7 separate regions of the Homo sapiens genome follow, and all the other regions are linked to region 6. The links are contacts of gene promoters, found by promoter capture Hi-C in blood cells and fetal thymus (Javierre and others, 2016). All regions are on one chromosome and are shown on one strand. The core of a region is centred on a gene start or on the middle of the fragment in contact, and the rest is flanking DNA. Distances in the headings are between cores, read along the strand shown.

The links. Contacts are between HindIII fragments. The CHiCAGO score rates a contact against its expected background, and 5 or more counts as called.
Region 1: a contact is called between a fragment that was not itself captured here and the fragment with the promoter of HADH in region 6, in 5 of 17 cell types (non-activated CD4 T cells, activated CD4 T cells, naive CD8 T cells and 2 more). The highest score is 13.4, in non-activated CD4 T cells.
Region 2: a contact is called between a fragment that was not itself captured here and the fragment with the promoter of HADH in region 6, in 9 of 17 cell types (non-activated CD4 T cells, total CD8 T cells, activated CD4 T cells and 6 more). The highest score is 9.8, in non-activated CD4 T cells.
Region 3: a fragment that was not itself captured here is called in contact with the fragment with the promoter of HADH in region 6 in 10 of 17 cell types (non-activated CD4 T cells, naive CD8 T cells, activated CD4 T cells and 7 more); the score reaches 17.0 in non-activated CD4 T cells.
Region 4: a contact is called between a fragment that was not itself captured here and the fragment with the promoter of HADH in region 6, in 1 of 17 cell types (naive CD8 T cells). The highest score is 5.6, in naive CD8 T cells.
Region 5: a contact is called between a fragment that was not itself captured here and the fragment with the promoter of HADH in region 6, in 2 of 17 cell types (naive CD8 T cells and activated CD4 T cells). The highest score is 7.3, in naive CD8 T cells.
Region 7: a contact is called between a fragment that was not itself captured here and the fragment with the promoter of HADH in region 6, in 13 of 17 cell types (non-activated CD4 T cells, naive CD8 T cells, total CD4 T cells and 10 more). The highest score is 21.3, in non-activated CD4 T cells.

The regions. Positions count from the first base shown.
Region 1 is chr4:108,510,111-108,513,237 of GRCh38, forward strand. No RefSeq gene overlaps it. Among named protein-coding and RNA genes, the nearest start is that of RPL34-DT, 110 kb to the right of the region's middle. The HindIII fragment of the contact is 1,795 bases long and covers 675-2,469 here.
Region 2 is chr4:108,559,171-108,562,320 of GRCh38, forward strand. All of the region lies in intron 1 of RPL34-DT (RPL34 divergent transcript), which reads right to left. LOC101929621 (a long non-coding RNA gene) reads left to right here. Exons shown (of 2, transcript NR_134679.1): 2 at 723-1,222. Among named protein-coding and RNA genes, the nearest start is that of RPL34-DT, 60 kb to the right of the region's middle. The HindIII fragment of the contact is 3,526 bases long and covers 24-3,150 here.
Region 3 is chr4:108,529,522-108,532,702 of GRCh38, forward strand. No RefSeq gene overlaps it. Among named protein-coding and RNA genes, the nearest start is that of RPL34-DT, 89 kb to the right of the region's middle. The HindIII fragment of the contact is 3,371 bases long and covers 43-3,181 here.
Region 4 is chr4:108,688,682-108,691,794 of GRCh38, forward strand. No RefSeq gene overlaps it. Among named protein-coding and RNA genes, the nearest start is that of OSTC, 40 kb to the left of the region's middle. The HindIII fragment of the contact is 2,179 bases long and covers 395-2,573 here.
Region 5 is chr4:108,672,219-108,675,547 of GRCh38, forward strand. No RefSeq gene overlaps it. Among named protein-coding and RNA genes, the nearest start is that of OSTC, 23 kb to the left of the region's middle. The HindIII fragment of the contact is 2,752 bases long and covers 1-2,730 here.
Region 6 is chr4:107,988,219-107,991,244 of GRCh38, forward strand. HADH (hydroxyacyl-CoA dehydrogenase) reads left to right here and starts at 1,671. Exons shown (of 8, transcript NM_005327.7): 1 at 1,671-1,846. The coding sequence starts at 1,715. RefSeq lists a silencer at 1,438-1,667. The HindIII fragment of the contact is 11,946 bases long and covers 1-3,026 here.
Region 7 is chr4:108,593,182-108,596,443 of GRCh38, forward strand. The region is part of intron 1 of RPL34-DT (RPL34 divergent transcript); the gene reads right to left. Among named protein-coding and RNA genes, the nearest start is that of RPL34-DT, 26 kb to the right of the region's middle. The HindIII fragment of the contact is 7,816 bases long and covers 1-3,262 here.

The sequences.
Region 1 (3,127 bases), core at 322-2,821, 520 kb after region 6:
AATTGATCACATTTTACTGTTTCTTCTGAATATTTCTAATGTCTCCCATAAATCCACTTCAGCACCAGAAAGTTTTCTTATGAAGAGTTTTAGCATTGTGTATCATAGCTCAATCTTTTTTGGAAAAGTCCAGAAAATTATGGGAATCTGAGAAAATCTACTCTATATGAAAGGATATATACTTTATAACTGACCTTTAAGTTCATATCAGCACATTATTAATCTATTCAACAAATACTTCTTGAACACATACCATGTCCCAGGATCTACACAAAGCAGTGAATAAAATAGTCAAACTTCCCATGATTATGGCCCTCTATTCTAGACCAGCAGTAATCAATAAATCCAATAGCTACTAGATCCGTGTGGCTAGACCAAGTCAAAATGTACTGTAAGTGTAAAATACACACTGGATTTCCAACACTTAGTGTCAAAAAATAAGGTAAATATCTCACTAATCATTTTTACATTGATTACCTGTCAAAATGATACTATTTTGGCAGTATTAACGGAAGTATATTGTTACAATTAGCTTCACCTGTTTCTCTTTACTCTTTTAATGTGTCTAGTAGAAAATTTTAAATCACATATTCAGCTTATACTCTATTTCCACTGGACAGCGCTGTTCTAGATCAGGGGCTCTCAAACTTCCCTGTATGCAAAATTGTACAGGAAGCTTTAAAGATACAGATTCCCAGGCTCCATCCTCAGAAAGATTCTTATCATATTAGTCTGGACTGAGACTCTTGTGCTGACATTTCTTTTTTAATCTCCCAACTGAGACAATATACAACTGTTCCAGGGTCTGTGGAAGACACATATCTGCCCTAGCCATCTGGAATATATCCATTTGGCCATCCTCTAATGGCCATCCTCTCTGTTTGTAGTGATATTTAAATGCATTCAAAGATTGTTTGATAATTCTTCCTTCGAAAAGTGGAATTTAATTCCCCTCCTCTTCTGTGTGGAAAGGGCTTAATGACTGGCTTCTAACTAACAGAATGTGGCAGAAGTGATGGTATATGACTTCCAAGACTAAGTTATAAAAAGCATGTGGCTTCCTTCTTGCACTCTCTCTTTAATTACTTGTCCTGGGAGAAGCCATCTGCCATGTCGTGAAGGCACTCAAGCAGCCCAGTGGAAAGGCCCACTGGGTAAGGAATTGAAGCCTCCTGCCAACAGCCAGAAGGAATCAGGTGGGCATGTAAGTGAAACACCTTGGAAAAGGATCATCCAACCTCAGTCAGACCTTCACATGCCTGCAGCCCTGACCAATATCTGCAACTTCATGAGAAATCCTGAGCCAAAACCACCCGACTAAGTCAATCTCAGATTTTTTACCTACAGAGACTGATGAGATAATACAGGTTTATTGTTTTAGGTTGCTAAGTTTTAGGTAATTTTTATGCAGCGATAAATACCTAACATGCTGTGACACTGGGTCTCGCCACTCCTCATCATTTCCTCACCAAGGTCATCTGCCGATGGTGAACTGCCCCAGCAGCTCAGAGCCATTTATGAGGGTGCTGCATGGTTTTCCTTTTCCAGGTGACAGCCCAGTGGCCACAGACAACCATGTGGTTGTGAGGATCTTCCCACTAGGTGGGCACCCAGAGAGGTGCCTCAGTGCTGGCAGTCAGCAATCACATAGCCCAGCCGCCTGGGATCTGCACACTGGCTGCAGCTTTGATGCCTTGCTGGTGGCAACACAGCATGGCACTTGGTGAAAAGGCACTAGAATAACTTTCTGGGTCCTTTGAACTTTGCTAGGGGCGTGAATTTTGGCATGTCTCTACCCTCCTCCCCAGTCTGTTTTCACTCTTCTCAGCCTCCATCCTGAAACAAAGCTCCCCTTCAAAACAGGGCTGCTGAGAAACACACAAGCACATCCATGCCCATTTCTATTGTTCCTGGCTGCAAATTCCCTCTTCCTCAGCCGTTTCTCACTTCCTGCATATGTCTGTAGACCCATAGCTGCAACTGCCTATGATTGCAATTTTATCCCTACTTCTGATATTATATACATCCCAATTTCCACTTTGCCTCCCCAAACATAGTCCCACTGTCCACATCCCCTACGTTTCCTGGCACGTTGGCAGTCCTCTGGAGGAACTAGTACAATGCACACTTCTACACAGGTTTTTCTCCCTGGAGGAAGCAATGAAGGAAGCGTTATGCCAGTCTTGGTCGATTACAGAAAGAACTATTGTAGATTCATAGTCTTGGTCAAGAAATTCTGCTCTAGTTGGTTTGGCAATAATACTAACAGAAAAGTAATAATGCTTAACTTCCTTTTTTGATAGCATTATTTTAAGTTAAATTCCTTCAACTTAAAGTTCTTTAAGATTTATAAGGTAAAGAGTTAGTTTCAGCTCACTAGATCCCCCAAGTTTCTCTAAAATGAACACCTAAGTATTAACATTACTCAAATGCTTTATGGTTTTTTTTCCAGTGCAAAAGGGGAAACAAAGCTTACTTTATTCCTAAAGTGTTTTCCCCCATGTTTTTGCCTGGCCTGAAATCAGACTCATGTTCTAAAAAGGAGCGATTAAGTGCAGACTTCTGTTTTAACAGGATGTATTTAAGGCAGCCAGGAGCATTCTCCCTGCGTTAAGTTGAAAGGTCTTAATCAGAATGAAAAATTGATTACTTGTCTTGACATATGAGTCACTTATTGTCACAAGGAGCTATCCATTTAAGTGTATGATATTTCAGCTTTGCATAAATAACGTCTCCTTTCTTTTTGACTCTATAAATATGCAGGTTCAAACACAAGAACATCTGACTCCAGGGGGCTTGTGTCTGAGTCTTGAATCGTGTTGTCAAAGGATAATTCATATTTCTCCCCTCCACCCCCACTCACACACACTTTTTAAATGTTCTTCTATCCTGTGCCTCCCCCTTTACTCTCTTCCACCTCAAACAGATAATCCATGTTTTTCAAAAGGTGCCTTGTTACTGAAAGGATAACTGGAAACTCACCAGCTTGTATCTTAGGCTACTGGGCTTCACTCCTTTTAATAACAGACAAAGGAGAAGTCCGCTAATGATGTTGACCCACCTCGGCTTGTGTTTGTGTAATGTTTGAAAGAGGTTTTGTTATCGTTAGACGTTCCTGAACAATCGC
Region 2 (3,150 bases), core at 537-3,036, 570 kb after region 6:
GCCCCTCCCATCTCCTCAGAGAAAGCTTCCAGACATCCCTGGTCAGAATCGGAGTCTCCTTCCTCTTCTGGACCCACTTAACATGTAGTTTCTACTTCTTGTGTAACAATTATGCAGTGAACCCTGTAGTGCAAATGAGTGTGTGTGCATTTGTCTACCTCGGAAGGGTGTGAACTCCTGGAGTGTCAGGACTGTTTTCATTCATCCTTGGGTCTTGCACATGGAAGATGACTCATATTTTGCCATATCAAATTGAATTGCTTTAAAAGATTAGCTTTGGCTTATTCAGTTTATGCTCCCTAAGGTTATGTTTTTATGTACTAGTATTGCAGATTAGGAAAAAAAAAAAAACCCAGCTCATCTCAAACCCTCGTGGGTCTTTTTGTGTGACATAGAATGAGAGCTGAGCTGAGCCCAACCTCGGTTAAGAGAGTGCCTCCAGCAGTTCAGACCCAGTTCATGTCCTGAGATAAGACTGGGAGGGGCTTCCCTGGGCCCTGGGAAGAGAGGGGTTCCTACGAGATGAGAAAAGTATTCCCTTAGGTTCTCAGAGAAAATGGCAATGCTCTATGTGGACTATGCACCCATTAGAGACCCAATGCTCTATGTGGACTATGCAGCCGTTAGAGCCATTAGAGACTCTATGTGGACTCTGCAGTATTAGAGCCATTGGAGACCCGTATTTATGCAATCTAATCCTGGGTCAAATACTCATTTTCCAGGTGATGATGGACAAGTCCCTTAAGCCTTCTGATCAGCAGCTTCTTGAACTCTAAAATGGGAAATCTAATATTAATGATATCCTACAACATGGACTGTTGTGAAAACTAATAAAGACAAAGCCTTCTCAAGCACTATGAAGCATTCAGTGCTAAGTACAATGAAAATAATGTGGCCAGAGGCCTCGGGCCTGTGCCAGATGGAACCAGCTTTGGCCACTCTTTCCCATACTGCTGCTCCCAGCTGACAGAGGTTTGGCTGAAGATTCTGCAAGGACCCGTGCATCAGTATTCCCACAAGGAGCTGCAGGGCACACACAAGTGTGTGCTGAGAAAGCCCCCAAGAAAGATGGAACCCACGTGGGGGCATTGCTAATGCTGTCCCAGAAAACAAGCCCAGGGATTTTCCCAGCTCTATACATTGCTTTGTGTTTATCAGTGCTTTGACCAGCAGCTATTCATTTGTGATATGAAACTCTTAAAATAAAATCTTTTTTATTTTAGCAAGTTTTATTGAGGGAACCTGGCTGCAGGCAGGATTTCAGTCTTATATCTGCATAAAGCCTAAATTGTTGGCATGTTGAAATATTTCCTTAGAAAAACCAAGGTGTTTGATGTTGCTTAGCCACACCAATTGACTGGACTTCTCACTTCCTAACCAGTTGCCTTGGTGTTGCTTAGATGAAGCCCAGATTAATTTTTTTCTCGGTCACTTCTTATAAAATCTGAAATCTGAAAGTTCAGCCCTAACCACCTCACAAAATGGTCAGTCTTGTTCTTGACCTCATTAACAAAGGACTGTCCTTCCAACTCACACCAATCTGGGGGAGGAAATAAACCAGACAGCCCGAATGACGACAGAGTGGGATGAAATAACCCCTCCCTGGGACAATGCCTTTTCCTGTTTCTGGAGGCTCCTCCTATTCCCACACTGGCTTCTGCATCCGTTACTTGGCCAGGATCCTCTTTCACATCAAAGTGTCCCTCCTTGGGCTTCAGAAGTAGGGGCATAACCTTAGTTTCTACAGGAAGGCATTTTCATCCCAAAGGAAAGGGAAAAACCATGTGTTTGGTTGCTATACAATTACAAGCCACTTTCCTTGTTTTTCATTTTACAGTCGTGCACATGAAAAGTATAGGCAGGCTTTTAGCTACGATGGGCCAAACATTTGGTTCCTAGACTTCTATAGTTTGAGCTGGAAACATTAAAATAATTAAACTGCAGCCATTAGTCTTCATGAATAATATTAAATGCCTGAGTCAGGAAAAGTTTTAGGAGAGGATACGATTTTCTTTTTTACTTCAAAAACACATGAAAGGGCATAATCTGGACAGATATTTAAGGAAGAGAGGTTGAAGAATGCCATGCATTCCATCTCAGACTAGGCTATGGGGACTCTACGTGGGAGGTCTGGATTTAAATCCAGTTTTGAATGACTGAATGTAATCGGTGATGGTAGGGCACTACAGCTTTCCCAAAGCTGTCAATTTGTGTCATTATCAAAAGCACTTATTTGGTACCTAATATGTCTATGCATGGCAGATGTTTAAATAGGAATGTCCCTGCCTTTCTGGGGCCTCTGATCTAAAATGGTGCAGATACTCTTGGAAATGGGGTAAATAGCAGAACCTTGGGTGGGAGAGAGCATGTCCAGTAGTATTTTTTTAGTGTGTAATTAGGGTGGGAGAGACTAGAAAGTTTTAACTGGTGGAGAATACAATTCATCATCACTGGAAGGCGACCCTGTAGAAGAGTATCACATTTGGGGTGTGGGAGCTGTTGATCAAAAGATAGCATAATTTTCAGCCAGGCGTGTTGGCTCATGCCTGGAATCCCAGCATTTTGGGAGGCTGAGGCAGGTGGATCACTTGAGGTCAGGAGTTTGAGACCAGCCTGGCCAACATGGTGAAACCCTGTTTCTTTTTTCCTTTTATTTTATTTATTTATTGTTTTGGAGACAGAGTCTTGCTCTGTTGCCCCGGCTGGAGTGCAGTGGCATGATCTCGGCTCACCGTGACCTCTGCCTCCTGAGTTCAAGCGATCCTCCTGCCTCAGCCTCCCCAGTAGCTGGAATTACAGGTGTGTGCCACCACAATAGGCTAATTTTTGCATTTTTGGTAGAGACAAAGTTTTCCCATGTTGTCCAGGCTGGTCTTGAACTCCTGAGCTCAGCCAATCTGCCCACCTTGGCCTCCCAAAGTGCTAGGATTAAAGGCGTGAGCCACCTCACCCGGCCTGAAATCCCATTTCTACTAAAAATACAAAAGTTAGGTGGGCATGGTGGTGCATGCCTGTAATCCCAGCTACTGGGGAGGCTGAGGCAGGAGAATTGCTTGAACCTGGGAAGCAGAGGTTGCAGTGAGCCAAGATCATGCCACTGCATTCCACCCTGGGCCTCAGAGCAAGACTCTCTCTCAAAAAAAACAAAAC
Region 3 (3,181 bases), core at 478-2,977, 540 kb after region 6:
TTAACATTTATATGACTTTTTTTTTGGCCTTTTCTTTTATAAAGCTTTCCTATCCCCTTGTATCTCAATGAAGATGAAAGATTCACCTGTAATTTTCTCCTCCAATAATTACAGCTTTCAAATATCAGTAAGTTATAGGTTATTGCTATTATGACCTGAAAATTACTTATAAATCTAGCCAGGCCAGTACCTTTATAAGAGATCAGAGAAATAGCTAAAAACATCCTCTCTGGAATTAAGAAGAAATATTCTGGTAGGAAACTCTAAGATTAGTCATAAATTGGTCTTGCAAAATCAGTGTTATTGTAATAAGCATATATGAAAATTTACCCATGATGCATAGTCTCAATCCTAATTTAACTTGTCCTAATTTAACTAATCCTAAAATAACTAATTTTACTTCCATTTTTATTATGTGTAAAAATAAGTTCTTTCTATAATGTTTTGTACTATTGGCCTACTTGCTTGCTTGCTTTTCCATGCATTGCAATATTTGGGAATGGATTACAAAAGATGCTTGGATAAGTAGCACTGAAAGCTGTTAAAAACAGAACATCAATTCCGGAGTATGTTTCTATTTGGATGCACATGAATGAAATAATTGAACTCTCAAAGTTCTTTTCATGCCCTTAATTCAATGAAGCAATTCCTGAAGCAACACATTCACATTTCGTAGCCGATTTACATGTTTCCTTTTGCTAGCCTTCTCTTTTGGACTAAGTTTTCTCCTTACTAATGTCAGTTCAAACTGGTGAGACTTCAGACAAGTGGTTTCTCAATCCTGATGGCACAATAGAGTGATGTGGGGAACTTTAGAAAAGTTCTGATGATCCAGCCCTGCCCCTAGAGACTGTGATTCAATATTTTGAGTGTATATGAACCACTTGGTTATTTGGTTACTGTGTCATCAAAGCAGGTTAAAAACGAGGGGAAAAGCCATTTTTTCTTCAGCCTGGCTATCTTGACAACTAACAAATTAGTTTTTACCCCCAAAAGAAAAGAAAAGTGAGACCAAAGATATTTTTACTTTTAGTAAATAAAGTGCATCAATTCTCAAAAGGTGCTTGGCCCTTTAAATGGCACGGCAATGCATAAAAAGACAGTTGGGTGAGGCTACATGCCCTTCATATCCATTTCAACACCTACCTCGGGTCCCAAAATAAATATTTTTAATATTGTCTCATTCTGGACTGTTCCAACATGCACTATATCAGCTTGTCTGCATATTCTAATGTAACCGCGAACAAGTTTCCAGCAGCTCATGTATTTTCAACAGACATTAATTCCTCATTGCATATATTCCACCTTTGAAAATTACACCAGCAAAAGATTGCAAGATGTAGTACTGACCAGCACAGTATTCATGAGGGGTGAAGATCCAATCTATGGTAGGGAAAATACTGCAGTTTTCCACACAGTAATTACAGCTAAACTCAATTATACAAGCTAAACTCAATTATACGAGCTAAACCCAATCCTGTTCCCTGGTTTCTTCCTGGTTTCCAAGGATGTGGTGTGATATACCTTAGGGCCATTTGTCAGGGATCCTCAGGGTTGTTGGTGGATATGGCTATTTTCCTTCTTTCATTTATCTCAAAGAAGTAGATGAGGCAGAGGAATGAGGGAGGGGCTGCTTTTTAGTACATTGTATTCTTCCTCCAGTTCTGCTAACAGGAAGGTTGAACGCAGCCCTGCAGGAAATTCTCCTTTTGCCACTAAGCCCTTCTAGGGTCAAGGGTGAGAAGACAAGGGATCAGTATCACTAACCCCTATCTGTGCTGCCTCGGTCAACCTTCTGTTTCTGGGTTTCCACACAGAATTCTATAGCATTAAGAGTCTTTCTCACCCAAATAAGGACATTTTTAAGGTTGGTTTAGTCTGGGTGGAACACAGAGAGAAAAAAATTGAGTTAAAAAATAAAATAAAATAACCTCCATAAAATTTTTCTTATGAATCTGGATTTTCAAAATTATACCACAGCATTTTCTCCTTTCAGCATTCTCTTCTCGCAGTTGGTATAAAATAAGCAACAATATCCTCCTTTGTAGCCTCTCTTCTCTGTGTGTAGCCCTTGGTTTGTGCAGAGGAAGTTTTAACCCTCTATGAGGTGAATGCCAGGAATCGTTTTAGGATGATTTACCAGAAGTCAGCCAGGAAGCTGACATGGGCCTGTTTGTAAAGGAAGAAGTACAGAGCCAGGGTATTTTGTGTCACTGTGAGAATGTACATTGACCTTTGTTAGAGAAACAGTTAATATTATTATTCCATTATCACACTTTCAAATGAGAAATTTAACCTCACATTTGTCCACTCTTACATCCCTCATGGCACAGTAAAGAGCCTTCTCTGGTTTAGTGCAGAACCACTAACTGTTAAAAAGGTGAATGAAGCTGCTCCCCAGTCCCCGCTTTCCCTCAGCTTCCTTCGCAAGCACAGACAAGATCAGTGGTTTTGTTATGGTCACCCAGCGACGCGAGCTTGGAACCAAGTATCTTTTTTGGTCCTCATAGTGTTCATTCATTCCCTAAACTACTCCTTTTTCTTCTGGGAAACAGACATTTTAAATTGTAAGCTACTAGAAGACAGAGACTGTGTATTTTAACCTGTCTGGTAAAATGCCCAACTCAAAGCAATGGAAAATACCAACCTGGAAGACAAGAACCCCAGAATCTAGGCTTGACTCTGCCACTAACCCTTGCAAGTCATTCTGCACAATGAAGGAATTGGATTATATGAAATCTAAGGTCCTTTTTGTTATAGCTCTAGGCTTATGCACCTGAGAACTATTCATCAATGACGTGAACTGTCAAACACCACTGTGGAGCCTTTCCATCACAGGTACAGCTACCGCCCCGCTCTTCCTCCGCCCTGCCCAGCACACACTGCTCAGCTTTGAGAGACTCCAGCTCAGCTCAGAAACCATAACTGGCCTTATTTTTATTGCCTCTATTCAAGGCTATAGGACTTCATCACTACTATGTGTTTTGGCTATGTTTTCTCACTCGTGAGAGATGAAAAAACAATTGCCAGCCAGGTGCAGTGGCAGTCTCCTGTAATCCCAGCTGTCAGGAGGCTGGGGTGGGATGATTGCTTGGGTTCAGGAATTCGAGTCCAGTTTGGGCAGAAAAAAAGAAAAATGGTCATTTTCTAAATTTACATTCAGAAACTCTAGCAATGGTGT
Region 4 (3,113 bases), core at 234-2,733, 700 kb after region 6:
ATAAATTCTCAACTAATTTGTCTGCCATCTATGCCACTTGAGCCAATGAACATTTAGTAAATTGCTAGAGCTGCTGACTTGTGTTACAGTTCGTGCTTTGGTGTATTTTATAATCTGGTTATGTTTTTCCAAAGCTAATGCAGTGTCAGGATCTGGAATTTTATTCCGTTTGCAAGCTAGTAAGCTAGCCTATTACTATTTCATGGATACTGGCAGAAGACATGAGACTTCTGGATCAGAGAGAAAGGACTTTATTACTCACAATGGAGCAAGTAAAATGAGTTTTATGTTGGCTTTGGTTTTCCAACACACTTCAAGTCCCACAGGGGCAATGCAGAAAGGCCTATGTTGATGTTTACACATAGCTGGTTCGTGTGGCAGCCAGGGAGCACTAAGCTTAGGGAATATGCTGCTTTTATAGTAAGCAAACCTGCTGTCTGTCTGGAGGGAGACATTATCTTATTCCTCAAGGTTGCTTGCTGCAAGCATGATCCTGAGCAATGGTCTGGGTAAAGATCAGTCACGGCCTTGCATGCTTTACATACCCAGCAAGAAGTTGTGAGGATGCTCAGGGCCCATGGTGGATTGCCTTTCTCAACGTATACTTAGTTGGTAAAGCATTTCAAGGTTGGCATAATTAAGTGGATCACTTTTAATGCTATGTATTACTTTACTGACATTGTGCACACAGTTTCATTATATACTTTATCGTTTAGTATTATTTTTTGATATGTGAAATGAATTAGTTCAGCTTCTTAGATAGTGCCATGTCTTTTGCCATTTCATTTACTGAAATGAGTTCAGATTTATATCAAATGGCTGTACCTACCTATATGTTTATTTTTTATTTTCTTGCTATATTCATTGCCATGCAAACTGTTTTAAAAATCCAGGTAATGGCATTAGCCTTTAGTAACAGTCAGTAATATATAGTTATGAAGCATCACAGTACATCTGTTTGAAGCCTTATAAAAGTTGTTGAGTTTCTGCAAATAACCGAACTTTGTCCCAACATTTTAAACTCTTTTTTAGTCTCAGGTAGTTTATGTAATTCTTATAAAATCTCTATCTGAGACTATCCCTACAACACTTACTATGTCCGTCATTACAACCCCCAGCTTTTTTCCTAGCCAAGTATTTGTATCTTATTTAAAATATTATACTTGAGTGTAGCTATATCCTGGTCAAGAAGAAAATTAATTTCTCTACTTTTCCTCCATATCCCACAACATGCAAGATGTCAGATGTTTATTCTATATGACTAGTATCATGGCCACTGCAAGTTAGGTAGGAATAGCATTGCAGCTCTTAATGAAAGAGCTGTTTCAATTAGCACAGCCTAACCGGGCAACTGGAACTTGAGCCCCTTGCATTCTCTCTCTCTCTCTCTCTCTCTCTCTCTCTCTCTCTCTCTCTCTCTCTCGGTACTGACACTTACTTTGGATTTCAGTTTGTTGAGTGAGTTCGTGCTTGCTGTCTTTCCTTTATGAGGCTGTTAAGCTCCTTGAGGACAGAACCTGGTTTTGCACAACCCATTGTACAGAGCAGAGTGTGCACATTGTAGGGGTTAAGTAAGTCTTGTTTAAAGGTTGTTTGTATTATTTGCTTATCTTTTTACTTTTATTGTGGACATTTTAAACATAAGTAAAAGCAAAGTTAATAGTACTAATAAACCTCTCCTTACCCATTGCCTAACTTCTCCTGTTATCAACGTATGGCCAGTCTTGTTTAATCAATGTATACCCTCATTCCTCCGCTCCCAACCCAGGTTGATTTGAAGTAAATCCCAGATGATAAGATATGTATTTATCTGTAAAGAAATATATATTTTTGAATAATTATATTTCTTAGAATATAGCTATTAGGCCAAAATTACAGTATTCCATAAATACCAGTCACGTTTGATAAATTGATATGAAAGGGAAGTCATTTAAGTCTAGCTCAAATACTATAATTCTGATCCCATTTAAATTACATTATTATTCTTCTCTTGACATGTTTACTTGTGAGAAAAAAGTATTACTACCCAACTTTAGCCAGCCACTTCTGTTTTTGAAGGTTTTTTGTTGCCTTAGACATAGCTGAAAATTTTTCCTCTGTGACAATCTTGATGTGACAGTTTCAACAGGCTGTAAATGAAGTGACCCTGACACTCCTCTCTCAGGACACATCAATGTGGGACATGTTCTTTATTGTTTGTGAAGAACTGATGGTTCATCTTTTGGAAAAACACAAACCAGCTGTCAAAAGGCCTTTATTTGTGCAATAGTTCAGATTACAGCACCATTGGGCAACCCCTGTGAAGGATCATCCACTTTAACTTTCTGAGATGCTGGTATTTCATCACTTTTGCTGAGGTTCCAGGTGGTTTGGTTCTCTGGAACTGACAATGGCCCCTTACCAGGTATGTTTTTGGATATAGTGATTGCCATGCTGCTTCCTTTTGTAGTCGGGGGGGCGGGTAAAAATTGTGCTGCTGGTGATCATAAATAGCATTAGTTCATAAAATAACAATTGTTTCTGTTTTTTTGAACTAGGTCTGCTTCTGATTCGAATAAGCAGAGTGAAAGAAAAGCTTTCTTCTCAGTGCACCTGGGCAGTCCCATATGCCAAGAGGCCATGGAGGACAACGGTGAAGCATGGGGATTCCAGGGTCAATCTGGGTTTTAATTTGCCCTCCATCACCTATTTGCTATGTGAATTGGGCTATTTGCTTGACTAGTCAGTGCTAAATTTCCTTTCCTGAAATAAGGGGTAATCATAATACCTGGATCATAGGTCATTGGTGGGTTAAATTTATTTATTCAACAAACATTTAAAGGATGCTGCTAATTGTCAAGTATACTTGCAGGCCCTGGCAATATAACAGTGAGCAACCATAGGTTCTTAAACTCTTGGAGATTACATTCAAGATTATATATATATATATATATATGTGTGTGTGTGTGTGTATATACATATGTATATATATACATATACACATATGTGTGTGTATATATGTATATATGTATGTATATACACACACACATATATATGTGTATATATATAAAATATATACACATATATATGTGTATATAAAATATATATATACACACATCTAGATGTGTGTATAA
Region 5 (3,329 bases), core at 105-2,604, 680 kb after region 6:
TAATGCAAATGGAGATTTAGATCCTTATAAAACAATGGAGGGTGTCAGAAATGGTAGATATATGGGTCAATGCAAAAGGCTTTTTAATTTTTTTCCTGATTTCTTTTTAATACATACAACTTTATAGTAAGAATAACAACTGTATCTTGTTGGGTTTATAATGTACATAGATGTAATACATATAAACATGATAGCATAATGATTAGAAATGGGATTTGGGCCTACAGTTGCAAGGTTGTATTATAGTACATAATATATGTTATTATTATATATAAATATATATATATATTTGAGACAGAGTCTCTGTCATCTAGGCTGGAGTACACTGGCATGATCTCGGCTCACTGCAATCTTTGTCTCCTGGGTTCAGATGATTCTCATGCCTCAACCTCCTGAGTAACTGGGATTAGAGGTGCACACTGCCATACCCAGCTAATTTTTGCATTTTTAGTAGAGACTAGGTTTTGCCGTGTTGGCCAGGCTGGTCTTGAACTCCTGACCTCGAGTGATCTGCCTGCCTTGGCCTCCCAAAGTGATGGAATTACACTGTGCCCAGCCTCACATAATACAAAATTGAGAAGAGGCAGGAAAGGAGGAATAAAAACAAAAAACAGAGGAGACAAATAGAAAACAATAAAATGGTGGGCTCAAACAACCATATCCGTAATTATATTAAATGTTAGGGGATTAAACACTTTAACTGAAAGGTTAAGATTGTCAGGATGGATAAACACACATATACATAATTGTATGCTGTTTATGAGAGACTTACTTTTCATATAAAGACACAGCTCAAAATAAATGGGAAAAGAGATACACTATGCAAACCGTAGCACTAGAAGTTTGGACTGACTATACTAATGTCTACTAAAATAGATTTCAAAACAAAAAGTATCCCCAGAGATAAAATGTATATTTCAATTTCATAATGTCAAAAGAGTGAATTTAGCAGTAAGACATTACAATAATAGATTTGTATGCAGCTAATAACAGACCTTCACCATATACAAAGCAAAAATTGACAAAATTGGAGAGTGAAGCAGTTTCAGAGTTGAATATTTTTACATTTTCTATTTAGAAATTGATAGAACAACAAGACAAGTCATTAACAGGAACCTAGAAGACCTGAATCACACTATCGACCACCTTGATTCAACTTACCTTTTCAAAACTCTACACCCAACAATGGGTGTGCACATCATATGTTTACCATGATAGTCCGTAAGATTGGCCTTAAAGCAGCTGTAATACATTTGAAATGATTGAAAAAAGTTAATCTACCTGAGGATAGACAAATAGGTCAGTAAAACAGAGAAGAGTCCAAAAATTGATGCACACATATATGACCCATTGACTTGGTAAAAGTTCCAAGGCAATTCAATGAGGAACAAATAGCTTTTTTTTTTTTTTTTTTTGAGACAGAGTCTCTCTCTGTTGCCCAGGCTGGAGTGCAGTGGCATGATCTCAGCTCACTGCAACCTCTACCTCCTGGGTTCAAGTGATTCTCCTGCCTCAGCCTCCTGAGTAGCTGGGATTACAGGTGCCTGCTACCATGCCCAGCTAATTTTTAGTAGAGATGGGGTTTTGCCATGTTGGCCAGGCTGTTTTCGAACTCCTGACCTCAGGTGACCTGCCCACCTTGGCCTCCCAAATTGCTGGGATTACAGGTGTGAGTCACCGCTCCCGGCAAGAATAGCCTTTTTAACAAATGGTGCTGGGGCAATTGGATAACCATATGCAAAAAAAAAAAAAAAAAAAAAAAAAACTTCAACGCTTACCTCACCATTTACAAAACTTCATGAATGACATGGATCACAGACTTTAATATAAGAGCCTGAATCATAATACTTCTAGAAGAAAACATGGATGAAAAATGTAGTGACCTTGGGCTTGGCAAAGATTTTTAAATATGATACACAAAAGCATAAGCTATAAATGAAAAGAACATCAATCAACTAGACTGGATTAAAATTAAAAACTTTTTCTTTTCAAAAGATACTGTTAAGAAAATTAAAAGGCAAGCCTCAGGCTGTTGGAAGATACTTGCAAAATATATATCTGACGAATGACTTCTATCTAGTTGTATATGGTTGTGGGGGTGAGGTCTGGGGAGAAGAGTGGGAGGTATGAGAGGGAGGAGTGACAAAAGGTCATAAGGAAACTTTTTTGGGTGATGGATATTTTCATTTTATTTTACTTTTTTTTTTTTAAAAAAAATGTAGGCTACCTTGGTAGTTTATGAAGGAAATCAATAGTATTAAAAATTGGATGTAAAAAATGGATACCATCAGAAACCCATGGATGAAGAGAATGGGAAGCTGCTCATTAAGATCAATTGAACAGGATGCCTCAGGGCATCACCAGGGCCCCAGCCCCTTCCAGTAGCTAAAAATGCAAAGAAAAAGATAGAAGAAGGAAGGAAGGAAGGAAGGAAGGAAGGAAGGAAGGAAGGAAGGAAGGAAAGGGAGGGAGGGAGGGAAGGAGGGGAGGGAAGGGAGGGAGGGAGGGAAAGAAGGAAGGAAGGAAGGAAGGATTATAATACTTAAATTATACTTACAAATTATTTTTCCTGAAATAAGAGATTTGAAACTATTTTGAAAGATCATGTAGTAACCGGAAAAACTGACCGAAAACGATGGACTCCAAGATATATCTTAATAAAATTATTTAAAATTTTAAAATACAGGGGATATTATAAACATACGCCAAAGATTATCCCCCCATATGCCAAGCTTTTCATTAACTTGACTAAAGGTTACAAGTATAGTACTAGGATCCTCTCCTGAATGGACACAGGCCCAGCTGCCTTTTAACCGAGAGAGGTTGGGTTCTATCTGTGAGGAGGCACTGAAAACATTACTGGGCTGATCAGTTCCCCTCAGCTGGCTTTCTAGATGACAAAAATTCTTTTTAATTCACATAGTCTACCAGTCTGTGGGACTTGAAAATAGCCAAGGGAATTCTGGGGAGATAAAAAACGGTCTTGTCTTGACACAGCTTATCAAAGAGCAAAACTCTGGGCTCTATTCAGAAAGTATAGTACTCTATAAATTTAGTTATCTAAGTAAAGTTGAGGAACGTGCCTATGAAGTACCATTTCAAGTGAAGACCAGCTATAACTTCGCATATATACTCATTAGTGAATATAGATTTTAAAAATAGGATGCCACATGGCATCTTTTCCTGACTTTATTAACAGTAGTGTTGGAAGTGCTCTTTTGTGAGTCCAGCCCTACATCACCAAGGACATACCTAGCAAGGAAGTGAGGGTAATATTTTTCTATTTAATGTTTCATAATTCTGGCCTTTTAAAATGTCTGACTTGAAGA
Region 6 (3,026 bases), core at 421-2,920:
CTCTTGTGGCAAAACTGCTGGCGAGTGTACTCTTTCCGCAGAAAGTAAAAATGGCCTTGCTAAAGAAATTAATTTTATGTTCAAGTGCTATTTCTTTACGGCACCAAGAAATAAGCATTTCTAGCAGTCCTTAACCGCCATAATGCCCTAAATTAGACCATGACCAATTGGACTCAAATACTTTGAACTATCTTTATTGCCTGAACTTTGAATTGTTTAATTTTGATCAGTTCAGTTTGTGGAGACTCCTGTTAAGGTGTGTACCTCAGTTTATTGCTATACTCCTTCTCGTGGCCATAATAGTCTCCCTGATGTGTTGTTGTCCCCTCGAGAGTCTTCAATGTCTCTATGCAGCCATCCTTTGTACACCAAATGGTGTTATTACAGTTAGAATAACAACATGAAGAAAGTATAATCACTCAACTAATTTGACATTGTGACTTCCATACTGAGACAAAACAAGGTTCTGGTCAATCTCGTAAAACTGAGAGGCTGACCCAAAGGAGGAAACTGTTATTAAATTAAATCTGGCCTAAAGTTGCCTCCCTACCTAGCAAAGCATAATCAAACCTAATATGTAAATAAACTGCAATGTAATTTGAGAGTACGTTCTTCTAACAAGTGGCCAAGTCTTGGCCAATCACCGCAGCGGAGCTTTTAGCCCATTACAGGCTGCAAAAAATATTGTCTATAAACGCGGCTTGCCCACTGTTAGGGGCTGGAGCTCTCTGAACCTTTACTGGCTCAGGATACTACATGATTCATGCTTTCTTTGCTCAGATAAACTCTGCTAAACTTGTTTGAAGTTTTTTTGTTAACAATATTTAAACATAAAGCAAATAAATTAATAAGAATCCTATATCACTAAGTTACAGTAATTAGAAAGTATTCACCTGAGTGAGAAGATTGGCCAAGCTGCTATCCAGTCTTCCATTATTTGACAAGACATTTCTTTCCTATGCTTTCTAATAGTATTCGTTATTCCAGAAAGGTTGCTCTATGACCTTAAACCGTCCACATGTTCACTGCACTGATAGACGTCCAACGTCAAGATGGGTAACTAAAGGTCAACTCTCTCTTTACCTTCCCTGAGCCTGATTTTTGCATTGTAACTCATGGTCACTAGACATTTGTTTTGGGTGTTCGCAGTCTACATTTATTTCCCTTTTAGGGGAAACAATCACTGTCCACGGGATTAAAATAATCCCGAGTTGATTATTTGGTGACATCAACCAACGGTGCACATTTTGGGTCCATTACCAACACAGCCAAGCAGCACATATTTCTTCAGAGCCTAGATATGCACATGTCATCAAAGGATAGCATTTTACAGAGTCAACACCACTCACTTCATAGAACAAGGGGCCAGTGGCTTTTCAGAAGAAGGGTCTGTTCTCGGCCCCACACCAGAACGCCAGCCGCCAGGTCCCGCTGCTCAGCAGGTCTCAAGCCCGCGCTCACTCGGGCTCCGGCTGCTGACAGCTGCGAGCCCGCGCGTGTATACCCGCTCAACGCTGGGACGTTACAGCCAGGGCCAATGGGCAGAGCGGGACTCGAGGCCCCGCCCCCGCCTTGTGGCGTCACGGGGACGCCGGGGGCGCGCGGGCTGCAGGGCCGCGTAGGTCCCCGCCCCCAGAGTCTGGCTTTCCGCGGCTGCCCGCCTCGCGCGTCTTCCCTGCCCGGGTCTCCTCGCTGTCGCCGCCGCTGCCACACCATGGCCTTCGTCACCAGGCAGTTCATGCGTTCCGTGTCCTCCTCGTCCACCGCCTCGGCCTCGGCCAAGAAGATAATCGTCAAGCACGTGACGGTCATCGGCGGCGGGCTGATGGGCGCCGGCATTGCCCAGGTGAGCGGCCCTCCCTGCAGCGTGCCCACGCGCTTGGCCGCCCACCCTGAGGTGGAAGCTCTGGCGCGACCGGCCGCGAGGGGCCTGCACCCGCCCGACACCAGGGAGTTTTCACCCCGCGCCTCCCGGGTGTAGTTGAAATATCTCGCGTCTGGGCCTGTGAGGGCCCAAGTCTCACTCCCCTCAAAATTCAGGGTTCTGGGCCGATCCTCAGCTTCCTCGTTTGGAAAATTCTGGCTGCCCCCAGGGCCCGCTGAAGGTTCCATGGAGAGTGGCGGTGAATGCATTTTGGAAGCGGGCCGTGCAAGAGAAGAAAGAATTGTATGTGCACAAGGTTCAGGCATAACGCGTTTGTTCCTGCTCGGCTCAAACGGGAGTTTGCTGCCAAAGACATGAACTGCGATCAGTTTTAATTCTATCAGTTATTTTTGATTTTTATTCTGTAATTGTGCAGTCTTTGTCAAAGTAGTTTTCTCTCCTAAACGGCCTCCCGGCTCTCCCCGGTCTTTCCTTCGCTTGCTAGGTTGTAAAGAATAGTAGTAGTCATGACTTTTGTAGCACTTTGTAAAGTCACCTAATGGAAGATTGCTGAGGTCCTGGTTTTGACCTTTGAAATAGTGCCGTCTGTGCAGAGTTCTGAGCTTGCGATTTTGGCGCTGCAGCGGAATAAGTCTCTCTCTTTTTTTTTTTTTTTTTTTTTTTGAGTCGGAGTCTCTTTGACCCAGGCTGGAGTGGAGTGCAATGGCGCGATCTCGGTTCACTGCAACCTCCGCCTCCCGGGTTCAAGCGATTCTCCTGCCTCAGCCTCCCGAGTAGCTGGGATTACAGGCGCCCCGCCCGGCTAATTTTATATTTTTAGTAGAGACAGGGTTTCACCTTGTGGGTCAGGCTGATCTCGAACTCCTGACCAAAGGTGATCCGCCCGCCTGGCCTCCCGAAGTGCTGGGATTACAGGCGTTAGCCACTGCACCCAGCCGGAACAAGTCTTTTATCCATTGTACATCTTCAGGGCTTTTCCATTGTTCTGCTGAGCTGTGGTTCAGGCTCAGTTGTGCGAGTGATTGATTACCTGGCTACTGTAATGCTTGTACTTTTTTTTTTTAAAAATTATTCCATTTCAGCTCACATTGGAGAACCATGGTTTTCGTATCCTAGCTGATTATATTCTTAGCATTTCAGT
Region 7 (3,262 bases), core at 285-2,784, 600 kb after region 6:
AATATGACCAGCTAATTTTTTTTTATTTAATTTAATTAATTTATATATTTATTTATTTGAGGTAGAGTCTAGCTCTGCCGCCCAGGCTGGAGTGTAGTGGCGTGACCGCAGCTCACTGCAACCTCCGCCTCCCAGGCTCAAGCAATTCTCCTGCCTCACCCTCTCAAGTAAGTGGGATTACAGGCGCATGCAACCACATCCAGCTAATTTTTATATTTTTTTAGTAGAGACGGGGTTTCACCATGTTGGCCAAGTTGGTCTTGAACTCCTGACGTCAAGTGATCTGCCCACCTCGGCCTCCCAAAGTGCTGGGATTACAGGCGTGAGCCACTGTGCCCGGCCACCAGCTAATTTTTGTATTTTTTTTTTTTTTTAATTTTACTTTAAGTTCTGGGATACATGTGCTGAATGTGCAGGCTTGTTACATAGGTATACATGTGCCATGGTGGTTTCCTGCACCTATCAACCTGTAATCTAGGTTTTAAGCCCTGCATGCATTAGGTATTTGTCTTAATGCTCTCTGTCCCCTTTCCCCCGACCTCCAACTTTTGTATTTTTAGAGGAGACAGGGTCTCATCATGTTGCCGAGGCTGCTGTCGAACTCCTGAGCTCAAGCAATCCACGCACCTCGGCTCCCAAAGTGGGCCACCGTGCCTGGCCAAACAAAGCTATTCTTTTTTTTTTTCGAGACGGAGTTTCACTCTTGTTGCCCAGGCTGGAGTGCAATGGCACAATCTCGGCTCACCACAACTTCCGCCTCCCGGGTTCAAGCAATTTTCCTGCCTTAACCTCCCAAGTAGCTGGGATTACAGGCATGCGCCACCATACCCAGCTAATTTTGTATTTTTGGTAGAGACAGGGTTTCACCATGTTGGCCAGGCTGATCTTGAACTCCTGACTTCAGGTGATCCACCTGCCTCAGCCTCCCAAAGTGCTGGGATTACAGGTGTGAGCCACTGCACCCAGCCCAAACAAAGCTATTCTTAATAACCTCAGAGAGACTGGGTGCAGTGGCTCCCGCCTGTAATTCTAGCGCTTTGGGAGGCCAAGGTGGGCAGATTGAAAGGCAATGGAAGGGCACCGTGGAACAATAAGGCGGAGAGGCGAGACTAAGAGGGCAAAAATCTTCTTTCTTGAGCTCTCAGGCGAGGTTCACTGGTCCGCAGGGGGAGGGCCAGGGAAGTCGCACTGTGCCAAAGGTGCAGCGCGCTTTTATGGATGCTGGGTGAAGAGTGGGCGGGGTAGGGGCGGGGTCGGTTGAGTTTCGCGCTTCTGAGTGTGACACGCCCTAGTGGGCATGCGCGTTAGTCAGGGTGGCGGGAACAGGAAAGGTGAACCCGGAAATGCTGAATCAGGGTATCCGAGGTGGCGATCGCCATCTTGGAGTCTTCACTGGAGTCCAATCACAGATCACCTGAGGTCCGGAGCTCAAGATCAGCCTGGCCAACATAGTGAAACCCCATCTCTACTAAAAATAGAAAAAATTACCGGGTCGTGGTGGCATATGCCTGTAGTCCCAGCTACTCGGGAGGCTGAGGCAGGAGAATCGCTTGAATCCAGGTGGCAGAGGTTGCAGTGAGCCGAGATCTTGACACTGCACTCCAGCCTGGGTGATGGAGCGAGACTCTGTCTAAAAAAAAAAAAAAAAATTCTGAGAGAAAATATTTCCTTTGTGAAAATAGAAAATGATGCTATGTCAAAAGAAAATTCAGAGAATTAAAAGAGCAGCTAATAGCTGAAATGAAAAATTCAACAGAAGAGTTGAAGATAAAGTTCAAGAAAGTGTTAAGAAAACAGCAAAAAGACAGACGGAAAATAGAAGAGAAGATATAAGAAAAATAAAGGGAGCACACCTGAAGGTCTCACATATGAGTAATAAGGGTTCCAGGAAGAGAGCAAGGAGAAAATGAAGCAGAAAAATCATTAGTAAAATAATTTAACAAAAATTTTTCACAACTGAAGACATGAATTGCTAGATGAAAAGGGCCCACCAAGTGCTCCTGCAAAATAGATTCTAGTAGAGCTACATTGAGCAACATCACTGTGAAGTTTCAGAACACTGGGGACAGAGATCCTATAAACTTGCAGAGAGAAAAATAGACTACTTAGAAAGGACTAGGAATCAGAATGCCTTCACACTTCTCAGCTACAATAAGACAAGAGAAAGACCTTCAAAAAAAATTTTTTTTTTTGAGATGGAGTCTCACTCTGTTGCCCAGGCTGGAGTGCAATGGCGTGATCTTGGCTCAATGCAATCTCCACCTCCCAGGTTCAAGCGTTTCTCCTGCCTCAGCCTCTCGAGTAGCTGGGATTACAGATGCCCATCTCCACGCCCAGCTAATTTTTGTATTTTTAGTAGAGACAGGGTTTCACCATGTTGGCCAGGATGGTCTTGATCTCCTGACCTCGTGATCCACCAGCCTTGGCCTCCCAAAATGCTGGGATTACAGGTGTCAGCCACCATGCCCAGCCGACCTTCAAAATTTTTCAGAGTCCAGGCACAGTGGCTCACACCTGTAATCCCAGCACTTTGAAACACAAATATGGGAAGATCACTTGAGCCCAAGAGTTTAAGGGTGCAGTGAGCTATCATCATGCCATTGTATTTCAGCCTGGGCAATAGAGCAAGACCCTGAAAATGTCTTTGCTAAATTATAACAGTAATAGAAATCCACCTCAGTTGACTCCATTTTGCTTCTAACCTTCAAACTGTCCTTGGTCATTCCCGGGTGTAGTCCAAGCTAACTTTGGGAGAAATTTAGTTTGTATTTTAACTTTAAAACAAGGATGATAATAGTCCCTCCCTAAAACTAAGCCCTTCCAGCCGGGTGTGGTGGCTCATGCCTGTAATCCCAACATTTGGGGAAGTCGAGGTGGGTGGATCACCTGAGGTGAAGAGTTCGAGACTAGCCTGACCAACATGGTGAAACCCCATCTCTACTAAAAATACAAAAAAATAGCCAGGGGTAACGGTGGATGCCTGTAATCCTAGCTACTCGTGAGGCTGAGGCAAGAGAATTGCTTGAACAAGGAGGCAGAGGTTGCAGTGAGCCGAGATGTCGCCATTGCACTCTAGCCTGGGCAACAAGAGCGAAACTCCGTCTCTAAATAGATAAATAAAAACTAAGCCTTTCCTTGCTCAGGGACTGAAAACCGCCTTTGTAAAACCACAAGATTAGGCTTATGGGAGGGACCTGAACTCTACTAAAATATAGGAGTAGTTTCCATAATCCCTTACTGCTCAGGGATCATGTGCCCAGAG